2 separate regions of the Homo sapiens genome follow, and region 2 is linked to region 1. The links are contacts of gene promoters, found by promoter capture Hi-C in blood cells and fetal thymus (Javierre and others, 2016). All regions are on one chromosome and are shown on one strand. Each heading gives the region's core, a stretch centred on a gene start or on the middle of the fragment in contact. The rest is flanking DNA. Distances are from core to core; before and after follow the strand shown.

Region 1 (7,950 bases), core at 3,704-6,203:
GTCATTTTATTAAAATTCAAAAGTTAAAATTCGAAAGATTTGTAGAAGGTCTAAAAGTTACCAAAACAAAGGCTAACATAGAGAAACCAAAATGAACAGGAAACAAGTTAAACTTTGCCAAGTACTACTGATATACTCTGCACAACTAAAACAGTCATAATCAAGGACACCCCATGACATAGTGGCTTGGCAGATTTGGTTTTTGGTTAGATCGCTGATGCAGGTCATGGCAACCCCGAACACATCACTTAGTCCTGAATACCATTCTATTTCCAGCTACAGGAAAAGAATTGCATTTTTACTTTACAGCAAACGAGGCACTTCAAGTTTACAGGGGAATGCAATATAAACTGTAAGGAAAACACTGAATTTACCATTTGTTTTCTTCAGTTCCAAATTGGTTCTCATGACCGGGCCCTGCCCACCTCTCCTGTGACGTGTCACACCAGGCTACTACAGTGTCCCTGAACCCTCACTTCAGTTATACTGGCCCTCTTTCCTTTCCTGGAAATCAGCAGACTTGCTCACTCACGTGGCCTGTGCACACTTTGTCCCTTCTGCCTCAGACATTTTTTCATTCAAGAAATATTCACTGAGCACTAAATATGTGACAAGCACTAGGGATACAACAGTGAATGAGGCATGGTCCTTTCCCACTCCTCTCTACTTTCCTCCAACTTAACTCCTGCTTTTCCTTCAGATCTCAGCTCAACCAGTGAAGTGTTTTTTTGCTGGTTTTTTTTTTTTTTTTTTTTTTTTTTAAATGGAGTCTTGCGCTGTCGCCAGGATGGAGTGCAGTGGCGCGATCTTGACTCACTGCAACCTCCGCCTCCCAGGTTCAAGCCATCCTCCTGCCTCAGCCTTTCTGAGTAGCTGGGACTACAGCTGTGCACCACCATGCCTAGCTAATTTTTTTTTTTTTTGTATTTTTAGTAGAGACGGGGTTTCACCACATTGGCCAGGATGGTCTCCATCTCTTGACCTCACGATCTGCCCACCTTGGCCTCCCAAAGTGCTGGGATTATAGGCGTGAGCCACTGCACCTGGCCTCAGTGAAGTTTTTCCAAACCTCCTGATTAGACCAATTCCCTGTTATATTTATTTATTCATTCCTCTAACAAACATCTATGGAGCACCTAACGTGTGTCAGATACTGTTCTTGCTACTGGAGACAGAGCAATGACAACAATCAAAGCTTTTGCTCTCACGTTCTAGTGGGAGAAGAAAATGATTTTTAATAAGCAAGTGAATAAATGTCAAGTGATGACAAACGTCAGGTAGAGTAAGGGATGGGAGTGCTAGTCTAGATACAGTGGCCAGGGAAGGCATCTCTGATGAAGCACCACCTGAGCAAAGATCTGTATGAGGGGAGGGAGGAAATCATGTGGGTATTTGGGATGAGTATTCCTGGCAGAGACCCGTGTATGCTGAGGTCCTCTGTTCACTGAATGCCTCTCCTTTGCTCAATTATCAGCTGCGATTTCCTACTGGTTTGTATTTTGTCTTTCCTTCTCAACTGTCCATTTCACGAAAGGAGGGAGCAAGTTTTTCTGTTGTGATGATCGTGCCTGGCTCTTAACACTCAACAAATATTTGTGGAATGAATGTAGCAGAGTGGAAGCAGCATGGAACTGAGACTCTGGAGGGTCCAAGGCCCTAATAGTTACTAACTAGTTGTCCAAGTAATTTATGAGTCTCAGTTCTTCCTTCTCTAAAATGACAGTTGGACTAGATCTTAAATGCAGATAATTTTCTGAACACTAAAGGTACTGTTAAGACAGCTAAGTCCATTACTATAAATACTACCTAGTAACACCTCATTCATTCAGAAGCCATTTATACGCAACTTAGAATCCTGGAGAAAACAAAGGCCACTAAAAAGAGACAAAATAGATGTTACAAAGCCCATATACTAAAGCCAACATTCTCTATAAACAGACCCTTAAGTTCTTATTTATACTAACTCATTTTCGTGACACAATTGTTAGATGGGAATTCAGAGTAAAACACATTTTTATTTTAAAGAATCATCTATGCTCACTTATATATATTTTTCAATAGGTAATTCATATACCCAGAACAAAAATTAAGTGAAAAGGAACTTTCTCTTATCAAAAGTAATCACTATTACCTATATACCTTGTGACACAAAATTTTCTAAGTTTATCTTCCCACACTGAAACAAATGGGAATTAGGAGAAAGAGTTGCATACAAGCAAGAATTGCCCTTTGACAGGAGGGAGGAAACAACAAAAAAAATTTAAACCAGGCAGAAAAATCTCAAAAAGCATGTTCACGGTAATCTCCGCAAGAGGCAAGCCACCTTAGGACCATGAGGGCCTCTGAAGGTGGCTGTTCTGTGACAGAGAACAGTCATTCAAGTTTTTATCAAAAAAGAAGGCCTAAATTCTTTGATTACACTCTTACAAAGTTAATGAAAAATGATTCCTTAAAAAAAAAAAAAAACCAAGGGACTAAAATGAGATAAGGCTCAGGTATCAAAAAACAATTTTAAAAACATAAACCAAGATTGTCTTATTGTAAGTGCTATGAATATGAATACTGGAATAACATTTGTTTGGGGGAATCAAGATACCTTGAGATAATACTTCTACTCCATTAAATACTAAATATGTGTGTGTGTGTGTGTGTGTGTGTGTGTATATATATATATATTTTTTTTTTTTTTGAGACAGAGTCTCACTCTGTTGCCCAGGCTGGAGTGCAGTGGCGTAATCTTGGCTCACTGCAACCTCTGCCTCCCGGGTTCAAGCAATTCCCTGCCTCAGCCTCCTGAGTAGCTGGGATTACAGGTGCCTGCCACCATGCCCAGCTAATTTTTTTGTATTTTTAGTAGAGATGGGGTTTCACCATCTTGGACAGGTTGGTCTTGAACTCCTGACCTCATGATCCATCCGTCTCGGCCTCCCAAAGTGCTGGGATTACAGGTGTGAGCCACCGCGCCAGGATTAAATACTAAATTTTTTTTAAATATTCATAACACAGTTTGATGTGACATCTCATCTTCCAGTCATACCGAATAAGGTAGCCAATTAGAGGTTAAATAAATTGCTTAAAAGTGTTCTCAAAACTTGCAGTTTCTTCAATCTTATGAAATTGGCAACTAGGAAGATTTATATATACACTTCATCATTTGTATATAAGCTGTTTCTTAAATGACACATCAACAAGGCAAGAATTCATACAGTAATTGAGTGATGCAACATTTGGAAGACAAAGCTTAGATAAGTCTGGGTTCTACTCCCAAAGCCTCTAGGCTAGGCATGGAGCAGCCCAATTATCTAGCAAAACTCTCTAGAGACAAGATGCTGATTCTGTGATTACAAAGAAATTAGAGTAGAAGGAGGGACCACTTCTCTAACCTGGGAGTTACCAGAAAATCCAATATATCAAAAAGTAATAGACAAATGGCTCAAGCAATGCCTAATGGTCTCTAATTACAGCAACACTCCTTCCTAATATAAAGATATTAGGCCAAGAGAAAGAAACATACTGACTCATAACAACCAGAAAATCCTGCTGAAATCAAAAGTGCAGTTCACCTGAGGCACCTTCATCAGTTTAATGCAGTATTTCCCTAGGTCTGGAGAAGTAAATTACAAAGCTATTTTCTTAAGAGACCCCCGCATTATTGACACTGAAGAAACAGGGAAGAACAGGGAAACGGGCAACATCCTAAAAACCACAGCAATTCACAATAACTGCCTTTCACATAAGGGTTTAGAGTCTATCATAGTTCAAAAGGAGATTACAAAGTATCCCAGTTGCTTAAATGACAAGGTTTTATATGGGAAATGAAATGTTTTCAGACATTGAAAATAAACAAGAAACAGTAAGACTGTGACCCTGAAAAAAAACTCGATTAAGTTTTCCTTAGAGAAGAAAAAATACAAAGAAAACCACTGCTCCCAAAGTTACCTGCTTCCTGCCTGACTGCCCTTCTACAGAGCGGCAGGTCAAGAAATCAATGTAATTAGTTAAGCAGTAGCTGAAAACTTTGCTTCTCATCACACTGACAACAAAACTACCTAACAGGTGGAACAAATGCAACATTCCTTTTTTTAAAAGAAAATACATGAATAAGCCAGTAGTTTTTCATTAAGTTGTACCAGTATTTTATCTTCTTAAAAAAAAAAAAGGAAAAAAAGAAAAATTTTGAAATTTGAAAAAGCCTCAGGGTGCAACTGCGGAGAGGGAAGAGAGCCAGGAGCACTTTGGGGTCGCCTACAGGATCAACTCTAGGGTCCAGACACCGCAGATGAAAATGCACCCGTTTCGGGAGCCTGTAAAGCCTCGGGCGCGGGCGGCCGGGGTGGACGTGGGGTCGAGGTTTCGGGCAGACCCGTGCAGCGCCCGCAGACCGCACTTGTGCCTTTCGGTGGGAAATGACTGGTTTTCCATAGCTGGCATCTCTAGCAGCCTCAGCCTTCTCAATCCCACGCTCTGCCTGCCTCTCTCTCGGATGCAAACTCCTGCAAAACGTGTGTGGCCGTCCAAGTCGCGACGGGACTCCTCACTGACCGCCAACCACTTCATATTTTGTCCGGGGGGCGATGGGTGGGAGAGAGGCTGCCGAAATCGGCAGAAAGTGGGGGCTGCGGGGCGAAGCCGGGGTCGCAACCGTCCGTTGCCCGAGGGCGCCGCGCCCACCTCCGGGCCAAGCGCAGGGCCGGGGCGGGGGTCGCTTCCCCGGCGCAGGGACCCCACGCGCGCGCGCGAGCCCGGAGGGGAAGTGCGGGGGCCGCGTGGGACCCCCGGCCCATCTTCCCCCGCCGGCCCCAGCCCTCCCGCGTCCTGCAACCCAGGCCCACCTTTGATGCCTGCCATGGCGGTGACGTCGCTCCTGGCTCCACGACCCGAGGCGGCGGCGGCAGCAGCGGCAGCCGGGAGACCCAAGACGCGCTACGGCGGCCAGACAACACCCGGAAGTGCGCGACGCAGCACTTCCGCCGGCGACTCGGGCTCGCGCGGGGGCGCGGGGGACGCGCCGGGCTGGGCTGTGGGGTCGACCCCCTGCCTCTCTTCTCCGCGGGTGTGCAGATCGCCGCCGGCCGAGGCTTGCCGCCGCCGCCCCGACTGGGGGAATGAGCAGGCGCCAGGTCTTGAATTCCTGTCAGGGCCGGTCTGGGGGCTCCCTGCTGAAGCCCCTGTCCCTGATCCCGCAACCTCCCGCGTGCGTTGGGAAGGGGTCGCGGGTAGCGGCCGTCCTTTGGATGCACGTGTGATGGCTTTTGGCTTAATTTCACATTGTTTTGTTTGTTTTTTGAGACAGGGTCTCTTTCGCCCAGGCTGGAGTGTGATCACGGCTACTGCAGCCTCGATCTCCAGGGCTCAAGTGATTCTCTCACGTCGGCCTCGCAGTAACTGGGACCACAGACATGAGCCACCATGCCTGGCTTTTTTTTGTTTTGTTTTGTTTTGTTTTTTGTAGAGACAGGGCGGGGTGTGAGACTCTCATCTTGTTGCCCAAGCTGGTCTCCTGAGCTCAAGGATCTGCCCTCCTCGGCCTCCCAAAGCGCTGGGATTACAGCTTGATACCCTACCTTGTTTTAACCTGATTGACTCGCTCTTAGCTGAGAGAGCGGGACAGACTCCATTTTGGTTTCTTCGCTTGCAGCACCTTGTCCCCCTCCCTTAAGGACATAACTGGTGCAGACTGACACCAAGCACATCCAGGAATGTGCTTACTGATAAGATACTGAGGCAAGCTGTACCAGCAGCTCCTGGGAACGCGCTCGGTTGATGGTACCCAAAGCCCCTGCGTTTATCTCTTTGTGATAATTTAAGCCCCATGCACCTGGAACTGTTTATTTTCCTGTAACTGTTTCTATAACCATTTATCTTTTAACTCTTTGCCTGTTCTGCTTCTGTAAAAATTGCTTCAGCTAGACTACCCCTTCCCTATTTAGACCAAGGTATAAAAAGAAATCTAGCCCCTTCTTCAGGGCCGAGAGAATTTTGAGCTGTAGTCGTCTCTCGGTCGCCGGCAATAAAGGACTCCTGAATTAGTCTCAAAGTGTGGTGTTTCTCTATAACTCGCTCGGTTACGACAACAGGTGTGAGCCACTGCGCACATTATTTTACTGCGCCTTTTCCTCTCTCCCTCCATCCCTCCATCCCCAGTCCTATAATTAAGGTTAGTTGGGTGGTCTGCACTTGGCTCCTTGGTTTCCTATACAGGACTAGGGTTCTGGTGAGGACCCACCTCCAGAGATAGGAGCAGCAGGGCTCAGTAAAGGGTGGATTTAATAGAAATCCAGTCCCTTGGGTGGCTGTCTTTTTGGTAGTAACAAGGCAAGGAAAAAAAAGTGAAAGCCCAGGTTCAACACCTTTATTTACACATCCTACAATTATTTATAGAACATTTACTATGTGTTAGGCACAGGGTTAGACGCTGAGATGTGCAAAACCAGGTACTGTTTGCAGACTGGTGAGGAAGACAGACACACAAAAAATGTAAAATTGCAATAATGATAATTGCTAGTAAAGGGGATCAGAATATGTCACTCTAAAATATGCCACTTTGAAGTCTGGTGTGGTGACTCAGGCATGTGATCCCAGCACATTGGGAGGCTAAGACAGGAGGATCGCTTTGGCCCAGGAGTTGAAGACCAGCCCTGGCAACATAGTGAGACTCCATCTCTACAAAAACGAAAAAAAAATTAGCCAGGCTTGGTGTGTGCCTGTAGTTCCAGCTACTTGGGAGGCTGAAGTAGGAGGATTGCTTGAGCCTAGGAGGTCGAGGCTGCAGTGAGCTCTGATTGTGCCACTGCCTGGGCAACAAAGCAAGACTCTGTCTCCAAACAAACAAATAAATGTCAGGCCTCTGAGCCCAAGCTAAGCCATCATATCCCCTGTGACCTGCACGTACACATCCAGATGGCCGGTTCCTGCCTTAACTGATGACATTACCTTGTGAAATTCCTTCTCCTGGCTCATGCTGGCTCAAAAGCTTCCTCACTGAGCACCTGGTGACCCCAGCCCCTGCCTGCCAGAGAACAACCCCCTTTGACTGTAATTTTACTTTACCTACCCAAATCCTATAAAATGGCCCCACCCCTATCTCCCTTCGCTGACTCTCTTTTCGGACTCAGCCCACCTGCACCCAGGGGAAATAACCAGCCTTGTTGCTCACACAAAGCCTGTTTGATGGTCTCTTCACACGGACACGAGTGAAAATAAGGCTAAGGATTGTTTTGAGCTGAAAGCAAATAAGAAGCAACAGGCATAGGAGGAGCTCTCTGCTCTCTCCTTTTCTACCCAAAGGCCGTGCTTAAGTTCCCTTTGTAAAGATAACATAAAGTTCCACTTTTTGTTTTGTTTTGTTTTTCTTTTGAAACGGAGTCTCGCTCTGTGGCCAGGCTGGAGTGCAGTGGTATGATCTCGGCTGACTGCAACTTCCGCTTCCTGGGTTCAAGCGATTCTCTTGCCTCAGCCTCCCAAGTAGCTGAGACTACAGGCACGCGCCACTACGCCCAGCTAACTTTCAGTCTTGCTCTATCGCCCAGGCTGGAGTGCAGTGGTGTGATCTCAGCCCACTGCAACCTCTGCCTCTTGGTTAAAGTGATTTTCCTGCCTCAGCCTCCCAAGTAGCTGGGATTACAGTCATGAGCCACAATGCCTGGCTAATTTTTGTATTTTTAGGTAGAGACAGGGTTTCACCATGTTGGCCAGGCTGGTCTTGAACTCCTGGCTTCAAGTGATCGGCCCACCTGGGCCTCCCAGAGTGCTGAAATTACAGGTGTGAGCCACTGCGCCTGGCCCCCAAAAAATGTGTAAACAAATTTTTCTACTTATAAATATTTACATTTCCCAGACCAGGGAGAGGATGCAACTCCTATGCCCCAGTAAACAGCATTTATTGGAGTCTGTGAAAACATTACTAAAATAGCCCTTATCTTTCATTAGTTTTCCCCTATATATTTACCT
Region 2 (7,950 bases), core at 3,571-6,070, 380 kb after region 1:
CAGCATGGATTATTGGGGACAGGGTTCATGTCCCTTCTCTCCCACACACGTGGCATGATGTTAAGCGGGTCACCTCACCTCTCCAGGGTTGTTTCCTCAACTGAGAAAATGAGGGGGTTGAGATGAACGCCAGCCCTGGGGTGCTCAATGCTGCAGTCTAGGGTGGTGTGGACTGGAATCAGAATTCTTTCTCCTCCGCTCTGGGTGCTGACACATGATCTCTGGCTCTCACTCCCCACCCCTAATCTTGCCCATCTGAGTTTCAGGTTATTTTTTCCTTCCTCCTGCTCTTCAATTTCCTTATTGAGGAAGCTCTTTCCTGCTGCCTCTGTCCCCGCTGGAGCTGTTTGATCCAGTAGAGCCAGTCGAAGCCAAGGGGACCCTGACTTGAATCTTGCTTTCTGACATGCTGGCTGTGGCTTGCTTGGGACCTGAATAAGAGCTTGCTTACTCCCGGTGTTCACCACAGCGGAACCATGGGTGCAGAAATGTAATTCTCAACCAGCCCAGTTTAATCAGCGAAAGACAATAGAGCTTGCAGGCGGTGTCATGCTGAGTATCTGAACACACCATGGCTGCTGTCGCCCTTTTCATTAAAATGATTGAAAATGTATTTCTAAACAGAAGTGAGGGTCCCTGTCTAAATCAAGCCGCTGTATTGGGCTTATTGTCCCGATCTGAAGTGCTTCAGCTTCTAGTGCTTCTCAATAGAAGTTCATTATTACAACGATAATAACAACTGTATAGATACACAGAAAAGAAGTTCCCATTTCATAAGGAAAAAAGAAACTCATTCAAACCAAGAGAGAATGAAAATTGCTCTTGTTCAGCAGCTCTACAATTCCTGCTTTCCCTTTCTGCTGGAAAGGAAGTTGAATTTAAAAGCTTATCTTGGTTCGATTTTCTTTTTCCCTAAACCAAAATAGAATAGCTATTTAGCTTGAAAATTTGTAAGAGCTCAAGTCAATTGGTTAACCAAACACACACACACACACACACACACACTTACATGCGCATCTTAATATCCTCATTATATAAAATCTCAATCACCAAAAATGACCCCCAAAATTATAAGACTCCAATATATGATTGAGCAAAGGACATAAACAGATGGTTCATAAGGAGGAAAGACACATGATAAAAAATATGAAAAAATTTTCAACACACAGATAATAAAAGAAATTCAGATGATAACGAGATATTGTAGGTGCTAATCAAAGTATCAAAGATTTTAAAAATTATAGCAAAAGAGTTCCTTGCTTTTGTGTAATGAGTTCCCAGATAATATGTGAAATTCACTCATCCTCTTCCAAATCAACATTACTGTCTGTGAAATGAACAATACAACCAAGCACACAGATCCTAGCCTCTGCTGGGAAAATCCCGTGTAAATCCACCATCCTTTTTGTTTCTTAAGTTCCTCCTTGGTAAAAAGTTGTTTGGCTCATGCCTGTAATCCCAGCACTTTGGGAGGCCGAGGCAGGCAGATCACCTGAAGTCAGGAGCTCGAGACCAGCCTGGCCAACAGGGTGAAACCCCATCTTTACTAAAAATACAAAAATTAGCTGGGCGTGGTGGCGAATGCTTGTGATCCCAGCTACTTGGGAGGCTGAAGCAGGAGAATCACTTGAACCCGGGAGGCAGAGGTTGCAGTGAGCCGAGATCGCGCCACTGCACTCCAGCCTGGGCAGAAGAGTGACACTCCATCTCAAAAAAAAAAAAAAAATGTTGTTTGTGTTCAGATTCTGAAATTTCACAATTCTCCCCAGGTACTGTTTTTCTTTGCCCCAAAGCCTTTAAGTCTTCGTTGATGGATATGTAGACACCTAATAAGTATTTGACCTGAAAGTGTCTTTCAAAGCATAGAATTCAGATGGTGATTTTACAAATGAAGAGAGTGAGGCTCACACATTCTGAAGGGGGGAGTCAGGCTTTTTACCATAAAAGTTTTTCCTTGGGGTAATGGTCAATATCCACCAAAATCCAGGTGGCACATGCTTGATACCCTTCTGAAAAGACTTAGTCTACTTCACTACTGGTTTTAGCAGGGTAGAGCCAGGGTCTCAGAACACAATGAGCTGCTCAGGTGAAAGAAGATCACACTAGGATTTCTGCTTTCTAATGCACCATCCTTTTTAAATTTTCATTTTTCTTACTGTTATAATGTATAGGTTAGTAGAGCACTTTACTTCTTGGGGATACATAATTAAAGTTGTTTTGCTGGTAGGATAGTGTTATCAAAAATTTGCAGGCAGCTGGAATAGTGAGATGTGAATGTGTCTGATCTCGTGCAATTCAGGAAGCAGGGCCTTCAGAGTGAAGGGAGGAAGGAAAGCTGGCTGTGGTCAGAGGAGATGACCAGCAGAGCTCCTAATAGAGGGCAAGAGTCACCTCCTCACCCCACAGGCTGCATTGAGACTAAGGCAACTGGAAAGTTCAACTGAATCACAAGGGCGTGCTGACATGCTGGGGAAAAGCCAAAATTTTTAAAGGTCATCTTGCCAGAAAAGTGGCTGCTGCTTAGGTCCTGTCCTGGCACCCTGGGCCCAGGATCCCAGGACTCAGCTCATGGGGAGCAGAGGGCTGTGGCATGCCAAGTCAAAGGTCTCATGGAGATGGTTCCAATTGGGAATCAATGGCAGAGATGCCAAGACAAGCTAAGGGGCATGGCAATCTGAGGATCCAAGCCACCTAGCACAGACACAGGGACAGGCAAGGGAACTAGAGACCTTAGCAGCTTGTCAGAGGGGAAGCGGAAGGCAGCAGGGGCCCAGAAGCAAACTCCCTATGTCAGATAGAGGTGTGTGCAGTGAAAATGAAGGGGGAACCAGAACCCCTTGCAGGAAATGTCCAGTGGAACTCCATGAAGTCCCTCGAGTCGTCTTTGAACCGCTGAGCCAGGTATTAGAGGACCCACAGCACACTTCTGAGCCTCGTTTCTGTCTCTCTTACCTACCACAAACTCTGGACAATCAGCTCGCACATTTGTTCCTTTATTCCCAAGGAGAACATGAGGAAAGGACGTAGATATCACCCAAATGTATAATTTACCAGGTAAGAAAAGCCCAATGGCTTTCTAATTATTTCTGGATGTCCCAGCAGCCTCTGTCAGGAGTGCAGGTGTAAGTAGCCTCATGTGCCTTTGCTCCGGCCTCCTTGTGGGAGTCCAGTACCCCAACCCCATCTTGGGAGATGCCGCTGGTCCAACCTCAGGATCTCCTAATGGAGTCAAGAGGTAAGGCTGATTTGAATTCACCCTTCTTCTCCTTAAAGCTAGTGCAACTCACAGAAAATTGAGAGCCAAATGGGAAACAAACTGTCAGTTTTCCTAACGGGTAGGCAGGTGTGTCTTAACCCCCAAGGCTTTCTGGGGGAGCCAGAGAGGAGAAAGTGACTTAGACCTGAGGACAAAGGAGATCCACCTGCTTCTCTAATTGTAGACCTTAAGCCTGCCTGTCACATGGACTGTAGCGTACTGAGCACAGGGGTGGTGCCGGGCAGGTACAGCTCCCAGCACTCTGCTGTGGACATCCTAACTCGCTAGAAGTTGACTCAGTCACAAACTATCTAAGTTTATAGCTGAAGCTCTAGCACCTGTTCTAGAACAGGAGAATCTGAAGGAGGAGATGAACTGAATTTAGCACTGATTTTCTTTAAAAATATTTATAGAAACTATAACATTTCTGAGTTATCTAGAAATGTTATTTTTGTTTAGTTTGGCTTTCTTTTTTTTTGCTTTCATCTGAAAATTAAACATTTTGAGGTAATTGTAGATTCACATGCACTTGTAAGAAATAATACAGGGAGATCCCTCTATCTTTCACCCAGTTCCTCCAACTTGGTAGTATCTTGCCAAACCATTGTACTATTTCATACCAGGACATTGACATTGATACCATCAAAATACAGACAATTTCCTTGGCTACAAGAGTCCTCCACATCCACTTCCCTCCTGCACCCACCCCTTCCTTAATCCTTGGCAACCACTGTTCTCCATATCTATAATTTTGTCTTTGCAGGAATGTTATATAAATGGGATTATACAGTATGTAATCTTTTGGGATTGCACTGTTTTTTTATTTGCAGCATAATCCTCTGAAAGTTGTTGCATGTATCAATAGCTTTTTAATCTTTATTGCTGAATGGTATTCCAGGGTATGGCGTACTACAGTTTGTTTAACCATCCACCTGTTGAAGGATATCTGGGCCGCTTCCAGTTTGGGCAATTGCAAGATGCTACAGACATTGATATACAGGTATTTTTGAGAACATAAGATTTTACTTTATTTCTCTGAGATAAATGCCCAGAAGAGCATTTGCTGGGTCTTATGATAAACGCATATTGAATTTTTTTGCTTTTGAGATGGAGTCTCATTCTGTCACCCAGGCTGGAGTGCAGTGGTGTGATCTTGGCTCACTGGAATCTTCGCCTCCAGGGTTCAAGTGATTCTCCTGCCTCAGTCTCCTGAGTAGTTGGGATTACAGGCACGTGCCACCATGCCCGGCTAATTTCTTATATTTTTAGTAGAGACGGGTTTTCACCATGTTGCCCAGGCTGGTCTCAAAATCCTGAACTCAGGTGATCTGCCTGCTTCGGTCTCCCAGCTTTGGGATTACAGGCATGAGCCACCATGCCCGGCCAGTTTGGTTTTTTTAAAGGTTGAGTTTTGAGAGTTCTTTATGTATATTCTAGATGCTAGTTCTTTGTCAAATACGTGATTTGAAAATATTTTCTCTCAGTCTATAGCTTGTCTTTTCATCCTCTTCACAGTGTCTTTCACAGAGCAAAAATTTTTAATTGTGATTTATCAAGATTTTCTTTTAAGGATCACACTTTTGGTGTCAACTCTATGAATATTTTGTCTAGCCCTAGATCCCCAGGATTTTTTACTATGTTTTCTTGTAAATGTTTTAGTTTTATATTTTACATTTAAGTCTCTTTACATTTTGAGTTAATTTTTAAAAAATTAGGTGTAAGAATTAGGTTGAGCTGAGTTTTTGTTTGTTTGTTTGTTTTGTTTTGTTTTGTTTTGTTTTTTGCCTGTGAATGTCCAATTTCTCCAGCACAATTTGCTGGAAAGGCTATTTTTCTTCCATTGAATTGCTTTTGTAACTTCATTGAAAATCACTTGGGCATACTTGTGTGGGTCTATTTTTGGGTTCGTTCCTCTGTTCTATTGATCGTTGTGTGTATTCTTCCACCAGCATCAAACAGTCCCAATTACTGTAGCTATATAATAAGTCGAAAATCAGGTAGACCGATTCCTCTCATTTTGTTCTTCCCTTTCAAAATGGTTTCAGCTATTCTAGTTCATTGCCTGTCCATATAAATTTTAGAGTAGTCTTGTCTATATCTACAAAGAAATCTTGCTAGGATTTTAATAGGAATTTCATTAAAGCTGTGTATCAATTTGGCAATGAATTAACCCTTTGCTGTGCTGAGTCTTATGACATGGTTTGTCTCTCCATTTACTTAGATCTTTGATTTCTTGCAATATTTTGTGTTTTCAGCATGCAAGTCCTGCTTATATATTAGATTTGCATCTGTATTAGTTTGTGATGGCTTCTGTAACAAAATACTACAAACCGAATAGCTTAAACAACAGAAATTTACTTTCTCACAGTTCCAGATGCTAGAAATCTGAAATCAAGATATCAGCAGAGTTGGTTCCTTCCTAGAGCTGTGAGGGAGGATCTGTTCCAGGGCCCTCTCCTTGGCTTGTAGATGGCTGTCTTCTCCCCGTGTCTCCTCACATCACCTTCCCTCTGTGCTCGTCTGTCTCCATGTCCAAATTTCTCCGTTTTATAATGGTGTTGTCAGATTGGATTAGAGCCTACCCTAATAACCACATTTTAACTTTACCCCGGTAAAGAGTCTATCTCTAAATAAGACCATATTTTGAGGTATGAGGTTTAAGATTCCAGCATATCTTTTTGGGATGAGAGGGGCAAAGCATAATTCAACCTGTAGCAATACCTAAGTGATTTGTTTATTTATTATAGTACAATTTTGAGTGGTATTGAATTTTCAATCATGGCGTCCGTATATTGAATATGAAAGATACTCAACAATATTAGTCATCAGGGAAATGCAAATTAAAATCATGATATGATATAATTTAACACCTCATATGTTAGCTAACGTTTTTTAAAATGATAATAGCAATTATTGGTGAGAATGTGGAGCAACTGGATTGCTCACATATTGCTGAAAAGAATTTAAAATCTTACAACCACTTTGAAACAGATTGGAAACTTCTTATACATTTTAACACATACACTTACTACACGACCCAGCAATTCCGTTCTTAGATATTTACCTAAGAGTAGTAAAGACATGTGTTCACATCCAAAGACCTTTAAACATATGTTCACAGCAACTTTATTAATAATAGCCAAGGACTGGAAACAACTCAAATATCCATCTTCTAATGAATGGATTAACAAACTGTGGTCTGTCCATATAATGGAATCCTATTCAACAGTAAAGCGTGGTGAACTACTGATACATGAAACAAATGGATGGAAATCAAAATTATTATGGTAAGTGAAAGAAGCCAGACACAACTGCCTGTATGACTATGATTCAATTTATATGACATCCTAGAAAAGGCAAAACTAGGGAGAGAAATGTTCAGTGTTTGCCAGGGATTCAGGGTAGAGACAGGGCATCAGCTACAAAGGTCCATGCCTGAACATTTTGGGAGTGATACATATGTTCTATATCTTGACTGTAGCGGTGGTTGCATAGCTATATGCATTTGTCAAGACTCATCTAATATAGTACCCTTTGAACAGGTGAATGTTTTTGTAGGCATATTTTAAAAGCATTTTAAAAAATCACATCAGAAAATTTTGTTAAACATGGTGGATTGAATAGATGTGTTATATTTGCTTCTTTCTGAAATCCTGTGGAAATGATTGCAGATGAGGGATGGGAGAACATTTTGGATGACTGAAAGTGGATGGACCATTGGTAACTCAGCAAAGTAGAGAAAGCTAATGTTTAATTGCCAGTCAATAAGAATGTCGATAAAAACCAAGATGATATTCTCATTAGAACCCAAGAGAGCCTAAGGACTAGAGGTGCTGGTGAGCTTTGAAAGGCAAGACAAGAGGTGGGGTGGATATGAAGATGATGAACTTAGATTTAGACTTCCAGATTCCCTCACTCACCTGCATACTCAGGTAGCATCTCCTCCCCGAACCTAGCAGGCAATAGAGGTTTATCTTCCTGAGCAACGAATCCGGAGAGACTCTGGACTTTGGGTTATCAGAGACAGTTGAGTAGGGAAGTGAGGAAAGAGGCAAAACAAAGGGTGAGCTAAAAGTCTCTCTACTGAATGGTGAGACACTCAGCCCGAATCTCCTGGCTCAAGTGATCCTCCCACCTCAGTCTCCCAAGTAGCTAGGACCACAGGCACACACCACCACTATCCACATCCCTTAATCAGTTCCCAGATTTTAGCAGCCAGGTCTATATTTATACCAGGCAGCAGATTAGGTATTTCTTTTCTGGGCCAACAGAAAGAAAGTACACAGAGATACTGACATGTCTACATCCCCCTAAGAAATGGGTAGGGATGCCCTACAGTGAGGCCTGCTAGTCAGCAAGCCCCACCCATGTGGTGTTTTTATGCCTTATTCCAATCACAGATGAATTGCTAGGAATAAACCAGACATCGGAGGAAATCCTCTGTGTGAAAGAAGGAGACCAAACTATTTTAACCGGAAAAACAGGACTTAGAATAAATAGTGGTAATTTTAAAAGACAAAAAAAAAAAAAAAAAAAAAAAAAGCAGAGTAAAAAGGAATTTTTAAAGACTCTAAAATATTATCAGAGAAATGAAAGAAAATTTCACACTCATTAAACAAGAAAATATTATTTAAAAGATCATTTCTTTTTATATTAAAAATGACAGCAGGCCAGGCACAGTGGCTCACATCTGT

What was found. Contacts are between HindIII fragments. The CHiCAGO score rates a contact against its expected background, and 5 or more counts as called.
Region 2: a fragment that was not itself captured here is called in contact with the fragment with the promoter of LEPROTL1 in region 1 in 1 of 17 cell types (neutrophils); the score reaches 5.6 in neutrophils.

Annotation. Positions count from the first base shown.
Region 1 is chr8:30,092,411-30,100,360 of GRCh38, reverse strand. LEPROTL1 (leptin receptor overlapping transcript like 1) reads right to left here and starts at 4,953. Exons shown (of 4, transcript NM_015344.3): 1 at 4,833-4,953. The coding sequence starts at 4,848. RefSeq lists a silencer at 4,646-5,105 and an enhancer at 7,221-7,390. The HindIII fragment of the contact is 3,733 bases long and covers 3,243-6,975 here.
Region 2 is chr8:29,713,930-29,721,879 of GRCh38, reverse strand. It overlaps LINC00589 (long intergenic non-protein coding RNA 589), which reads left to right. Exons shown (of 4, transcript NR_026765.2): 4 at 1-621. Among named protein-coding and RNA genes, the nearest start is that of LINC00589, 30 kb to the left of the region's middle. The HindIII fragment of the contact is 7,866 bases long and covers 888-7,950 here.